Regions from separate parts of the Homo sapiens genome. Here region 1 is linked to region 2. The links are contacts of gene promoters, found by promoter capture Hi-C in blood cells and fetal thymus (Javierre and others, 2016). All regions are on one chromosome and are shown on one strand. The core of a region is centred on a gene start or on the middle of the fragment in contact, and the rest is flanking DNA. Distances in the headings are between cores, read along the strand shown.

Region 1 (3,537 bases), core at 955-3,454, 100 kb before region 2:
GGGAGTCTTGCTCTGTCGCTCAGGCTGGAGAGCAGTGGCGAGATCTCGGCTCACTGCAATCACCACCTCCCGGGTTCAAGCAATTCTCCTGCCGCCGCCTTCTGAATAGCTGGGATTACAGGCGCGTGCTGCCACGTTCAGCTAATTTTTGTATTTTTAGTAGAGACAGGGTTTCACCATGTTGGCCAGGCTGGTCTCAAACTCCTGACCCCAAGTCATCCGCCCCCCTCGGCCTCCCAAAGTGCTGGGATTACAGGCATTAGCCACCGTGCCCGACCAAGGTGCCATATTAATATGATCAGACAAACCTCTGCCTCCAGATCCTGGGGGTCTGGAGGGCATATGAAATGTACTAGGTTTACTAAAGGAGGTATCTGGGTTGGGGATGGACTGCAGGGCAGTTCTCTGGTTGGCCTTGGACTGACTCAGTTCTCCCCTCTTTCTCACTAGTAGTTCTCAAGCATAGAACGTGCTGGGAATGTAACATCCTGAGAGAGGGACGGACTGGCTGGAATAGCCCTGGCTCTATTCCAGCCCCTCCCTACAAACAGGATGTCTTTCAATGCTTTAACCCAGCAGTCACATGACCCCAGAGTACAAAACTCAGGGCAGCTGCAGTGCAAGTGGGGCACACACACATGAGATTCCATCACCCAGGCAGCATTCCTGAGCCTTGGGGGACTGGTTTCCAATGATTCTTAGGCTTCTGTCATTCTTTGCTGCCTATCTGTAAGTAATAAATCCAGTTCATGTAAATTGTTGTATTAAATATATGAATGTGTTTTCTCACTGGACTCAGACAAGTTGGTAACCAGCATACAGTGAACTTGCTTCATAGAGTCTAATACCTTTTTGTTCAGTTTATACATGTTTACTGAGCTGGGCATCACTATATGCTCTTCTTCCTTCTCCACCCTGCTATGTTCCCAGCTAGGTTGAGCTGTGTGGTTGGGTTTGGCCAAAGAGAGGCATTAGCAAGATACTGAAAAACAAGAGGAGAGTCAAGGGACTTATAGTCTCCTCCTTCCTGCCACAAACCATAGGTTCCTTCTAAAAAAGGTACAACTCCTATCAGACTGCCCCCTTCCCTTGAACCTTCAGATTCAGGGTTCTACACCGAATCTTGTTTCATTGTTTTTGTTTTTAAATCTTGCCCATGCCTTTGTAGATAGTACCTTTATAAAACTCTCCTCAATTACACAGGCTGAGAGTGCCACTTGCTTACTGCCAGAACTCTGTATGCATACAACCCAAAATGGACTCTGCCAGTGATTAGATTTGTGAGGTAAGAAACAAAACAAAACTTTCACTGGGTACTAACCTACAGGTGTGTCAGTGTAGTGTTTTTACACATTAGCCCATTTAATGGTCACAATAAGCCTTTTCAGATAAGAAAACTGAATTTAGAGGGTTATGTTTCTTGCTAAAGATCACCAGGTATTAATATTAAGGATCAGGGTCAGACCAGAACTCGGCTAGGTCTGCCTCCCTAAACATCTGCTTTGCTCCAGGTACCATTAGCCCTGGAAAAAAGGCTTGGTAAGGGACTGAGGGGTAAAGGACGGATTACGACCATGTTTCTCCAAGGGGTCACCTGAGTACAATCACCTGGGATGCTTTTTCAAAATCTAGATTCTTGGACTGTATCTCTCTCAATCCTTTAGCTCTCAGTGGTTTTTGTGCCTCTATTTCGACACTCACCACATTGGATTGCAGGAATAGTCATTAACTCTTTTTTTTTTTTTTTAGACGGAGTTTTGCCCTTGTTGCCTAGGCTGGAGTACAATGGTGCAATCTTGGCTCAATGCAACCTCTGCCTCCTGGGTTCAAGCAATTCTTCTGCCTCAGCCTCCCAAGTAGCCGGGATTACAGGCATGCGCCACCACACCTGGCTATTTTGTATTTTCAGTAGAGATGAGGTTTCACTCTGTTGGTCAGGCTGGTCTTGAACTCCTAACCTCAGGTGTGATCCACCCACCTCGGCCTCCCAAAGTTCTAGGATCACAGGCGTGATCCACCGCCCCCGGCCGGATTGGTCATTAACTCTTATTTCAGCAGATACTCTTTCATTTGGGACACTGGTGTATTTGCACAAATTCTAGGCGCCCCACGCAGCGGCCTGGAGCCTGTCCCCAAGTCCAACCAATGGGAGTAGTGTTAAGGGCTCCGCCCTCGACTACTTTCCAGCGCTCGGCAAAGCCGCCAGGCCCGCCCACTGACTCCGCGGAGCTGGGTCGCCCCTGTTCTACCCAGATTGGGATGGCAGCGACGCTGATCCTGGAGCCCGCGGGCCGCTGCTGCTGGGACGAGCCGCTGCGCATCGCAGTGCGCGGCCTGGCCCCGGAGCAGCCAGTCACGCTGCGCACGTCCCTGCGCGACGAAGAGGGCGCGCTCTTCCGGGCCCACGCGCGCTACCGTGCCGACGCCCGCGACGAGCTGGACCTGGAGCGCGCGCCCGCGCTGGGAGGCAGCTTCGCGGGGCTCCAGCCCATGGGGCTGCTGTGGGCGTTGGAGCCCGAGAAAGCCTTGGTGCGGCTGGTGAAGCGCGACGTGCGGACGCCCTTCGCCGTGGAGCTGGAAGTGCTGGACGGCCACGACACCGAGCCCGGGCGGCTGCTGTGCCTGGCGCAGAACAAGCGCGACTTTCTCCGGCCGGGGGTGCGGCGCGAGCCGGTGCGCGCGGGCCCGGTGCGCGCCGCGCTCTTCCTGCCGCCGGATGAGTAGTCTGCCCAGAATTTGGTCGAGCTCTGCGACCCCCACCGGCCCCTTTCCTGTCCTGGGAATCGCGTGATTGTGGAACATCCCTGAACTTGTTCCTTCGCTCCAGAGTCTGTCATGGATTCTGAGTCTGGGCGTCCGCTGTTGCCCAGGCTGGAGTGCCGTGGCTGGATCGTAGCTCACACTGCAGCCTCGAACTCCTGGGCTCAAGTCCTCTCGCCTCAGCCTCCTGAGTAGCTACTCCAGTCTTTCCTTTTTAAGTTTCACGTCCCTCCCTGGAGGCACCACCACTTTAGCTATGTGCTGAATAGTGCATTCAACTTATTATATATTTATTGAGAGCCACTATGTGCCAGCCATGTGGTTTTGTTTGAATACGATATGGGCAAAACCTTAAGCTGATGTGCAAGAAGGATTTTTGCCTCCTTTCACATCAAACTTCCAAAGAAGCTAAAATCCACAGTATTGGCAATGCCCTTTAATTGTTTAAAAACACACACAAAACTGCCTGACAGTCCTCTCCCTTCTATCATAAACATGCTGTACGTGGTTCTCAACCTGCAATGATTAGCCGCCCTCCCTGGGGGAAATTTGGCAATATCTGGAGACATTTGTGGTTGTCATATCTGAAGGGAGAGGTGCTATTGGCATCTAGCAGGCAGAGGCCAGAGATGCTGCTAAACATTCCACAATGCACAGGACAACCACCAGAACAAAGAATTATCTTGCTGAAAATGTCTGTACTACTGAGGTTGAGGAACCCTAGTCTAAGTAAACACAGGATGTTTGCTAGGTAAAGGTAGCCCAGAAAGAAGACTC
Region 2 (3,366 bases), core at 867-3,366:
GTTCGCGTGTTTTTCACAACTGATTATGATGTCCATGATGACAGCGTGCACTAAGCGCTGTGTCCAACCAACCCTTTACCTGGCATTTTAGCCAGCAAGACCCGCTTGCATTGCAGTCGTTCACGGTGCTCGCTGGCACAATTTTAGAATGTTACATGAATACTCAGGCCTGACTAACCTTCCCCTCCAAAAAACAACAAAACAGAACAAGGCTAAGCCTTTACTACTCAGAGACACATCTGTAAGACCCCACAGGGACAAGAAAAGTAGCTGTGATCTAGGTCTGCACTAAAGCTGCCTTTCCTGGCACTCAGAAGTGCCCTTCCAGGCCTAACTGCAGAAGGGTGGCCTCAGCCTCCTCCTCCTCCTCCTTGGCTTCCTCCTCACGGATCTGCACCAGCAACTGAAAGAGGTTTGGGGCTGGCCCTTCCCCAGCCCCGGTAAGCCACAGCTGCCTTCGGATGGCCCCGCTGTGGTTGGCCCCGGCAATGACCTGCTCTAGGCGGGCCTGGTTCACATTATCTTTATCAATGGCCCCCTTCTCTACCACCTTCTGTAGCAGAGGCTCCAGACGAATGACATAAGCAGACAATTTTTCTCCCGGGTTCTGATAAGTGTTCAGAAATTTGATCTGGGCATCCCTAGAGCTCTCAACGCTCCCAAACACCTGCTCAAGCGCCTTCAGGCATTCGGCAGTGGTTATCGCGGGGTTGTTGGACTTAAGGATGCGAATAACATCAGCGGCGGGGCCTCTAAGACTCTCCATCAACCGCCGCCTCTTTTCTACATCGGACACCTGCCACTCCTCTAGGACCTCATTAGTGTGCTCCAGCCAGGGATCAAAGGTTTCCTCTCCAGGCCCTGGGATGTCCCTCCCCGAGAAAAGTGTCAGCCTCTTGTACCATATGGACTCAACAAGAGGCTGAATAACATTATCCAAAATATAGTTTAGCATCTCTGCTGGCATCTCTGGGCCCGGGGTCGGAGTAGGGTTCTGAAACCCAAGGACACGGGCAACATCTTGCACGGTCCACCCCTCTCTAGCTAGGAAGAGGTGCAATCTTTCTAAAAATTCAGCATCAGAAGTTGGGGGCTTAAATAACACTTTCCAGACCCCTCCTTTGCCCGGCATCTCCCTGGGGATCGCGGCGTAATCTACAGCGCCAGTGAGCTCTAATAAGGCTGCTTTCGCATTTTCTTCCCTCCAGAACATTCTCCCAAGCATTCGGTAGGAGACCTGGGGCATCGCAGCCTGGAGGGTCTCTTCGATTTCAGCCTCATCACAGTTCACTGGGATGCCCCAGACTAACAGAGCTCTCTGGGAGTTCACATCCATCCCCCGGCACCAGTCTTCCAACAGTGTCATCGCCATTTTCTCAACTATCAAGACGCCAAATTCTACCAACAGACTGTGGCTCACCGTGCTCCTGGCCTTAGAACAATACCAGACACTCCCACCAAGTAGGCCCGAGGGAGGCGACCTTCATGCAGTCACGATTAACAAAGACAGAGTCCTGATCTCGCCCTTCTCTGCCCCCACAGTCAGTCCGTAGGTGCACTCGGAGCCGAGCTCGGGGACGCTGAGGCAGTCACGCGGCCGTCGCCATCTTGCGTCTGGGTCTGGGTCCGGTCGGGTCCGCCGCCTGCAGCAGGGGCGTCGCGTCGTCGTGCAGCGGGCGAGGAGCGACGGCGGGCGGCGAAGGCAGGCGCGCTGGGCCGAGAGCCGCCGGGGTGTGGTCGCGGGGCGTGGCCGCCGGGCGCTCGCTGCGGCTCCTGGAGAGGATCGGGCGTTCGCGGTCGCAGCCTGGTCTTCCCGCGGGCGAGGAGCGGCCGTTTGGGAGACTAGCCAGAGGGAGAAACTGTGCCGAAGTCGCGGCGGCTGCGGGCCAGCGGAAAGCGGCTTCTTGGCGGGCGCGGGGACTCCTCTGGGCGGGCGGCGAGGACGGCCGAGGACCAGAAACGAAGGCAGCAGAGGAGCAGGAAAGTCGGAGAAGCGAGGCTGGAGACAGCAGAGGCGAGGGTGGGAAGGGGCGGCCGCGGCGGCCCGCAGCGGTTCAGGCGCTGCGCGGCTGCTCTGGCGTCCAGTCCTACCCGCAACCCGCCGCGACGTTACTGCTGCAGTGGAGGATGGGGCCAGCCGGCGAGCGGCGTCCGCCCCGCCCCGCCCCGTCCCGCCCCCGCGGCGGAGCTGCTCGGGCGTCTCCATGGCAACGGTGTCCCAGCCGGCGCGAGGCACGCCTGCTCCGGCGGCTCGCGGGGGTCGAGCGGTTGCCGTGGAGCCAGCGAGGGGCTCGGGCATTTGTTTCTCTGATGGCGCATTTCCTTTTTCATAATTTAGCATTTTAACAGTAAACAACTACTACTAAGCACCGTGTTTTAAAAATAATAACCCAATCCTGGAGTGGATTTAAGATGATATTGTTGGAAATGCATCCCTCATGGTGGACTTGTCTACTCGGGTTGCTCAGCCAGTCCACCCTGCACGTGAAAATACTCTCCTCAGAACCCTGGCTTCCCGTTGCCCCTGACCACACTGTGCACCCTGCATATTTCATCCCAATGAAGCCAAAATGTCGGAGTGCGCCATTTCTGTGTATTTGTGTGAGACACTGAGTTTAGACTTTTTCTTGTCTAAAATTTTGTAAAAATCTGTCTGTGTCTACTGAGTCATCTTTTAGCCAGGCAAACATTAGTGTATTATTTTCCTTTTCCTGGCTGGCATCATTGACAATAGGCTGCTAAAAGAGAATCCTTATGGTTCAAAAATGTCGAGTAATCTCCCTGCAAGCAAGACAAGGCGCACTTACATCAACCCCAGATGGTGAAAATCCCAAGAGAACAAAGCATTCAACTCTGAATTTTTAAAACCTTATTTAATAAAAGGTTTAAAGATACAGAAGAACATTCAAAAGTAAATAAGTTACATAGGTACATTACAATCACATCAGCAAGATTCTTTAGTGTATTAATTTTTTTCTTATAAAAAGCACACAAAAAATAAAATCTTCAGTCTCTATCACAACTGTACAGCAAAAGAGGTAATATTTATATATGTACACTATTTTAATATGTAACAGTCTTTTTAAAAAAGGATGCCACAGGCAGCAAACACACAAAAGGCAGTGTCTGATCATTTTTGTTTCAAAATAAAAGGAATATACTTATTTATATGCTATTAAAATATCTGTACAATAATTACAGACTGTCAAGGCTGTTCCTGTGCTCTGTCCCCTCCAACAAAGCCTTCAACTTAGAGACAAATGAGGAAAAAGTGAAACAGCTGCAAATTGTTAGAAGCAAATATTAACATAGCAAAATGTGGGGAGGACACAATTGTTTTATAAAAATATCCCTACTTCCTGTAAA

Evidence for each region. Contacts are between HindIII fragments. The CHiCAGO score rates a contact against its expected background, and 5 or more counts as called.
Region 1: the fragment with the promoter of ACOT6 here is called in contact with the fragment with the promoter of PNMA1 in region 2 in 2 of 17 cell types (M1 macrophages and naive CD8 T cells); the score reaches 6.2 in M1 macrophages.

The regions. Positions count from the first base shown.
Region 1 is chr14:73,610,313-73,613,849 of GRCh38, forward strand. ACOT6 (acyl-CoA thioesterase 6) reads left to right here and starts at 2,205. Exons shown (of 3, transcript NM_001365788.1): 1 at 2,205-2,720. The coding sequence starts at 2,260. It also overlaps a transcript of HEATR4 not described here. RefSeq lists enhancers at 2,316-2,365, 2,383-2,882, 2,416-2,465. The HindIII fragment of the contact is 17,987 bases long and covers 1-3,537 here.
Region 2 is chr14:73,712,268-73,715,633 of GRCh38, forward strand. It overlaps PNMA1 (PNMA family member 1), which reads right to left and starts at 2,117. Exons shown (of 1, transcript NM_006029.5): 1 at 1-2,117. The coding sequence starts at 1,372. The coding sequence ends at 311. It overlaps MIDEAS (mitotic deacetylase associated SANT domain protein), which reads right to left. Exons shown (of 13, transcript NM_001367710.1): 13 at 2,855-3,366. RefSeq lists enhancers at 1,513-1,572, 2,513-2,582 and silencers at 1,663-1,832, 2,013-2,292. The HindIII fragment of the contact is 4,676 bases long and covers 1-3,366 here.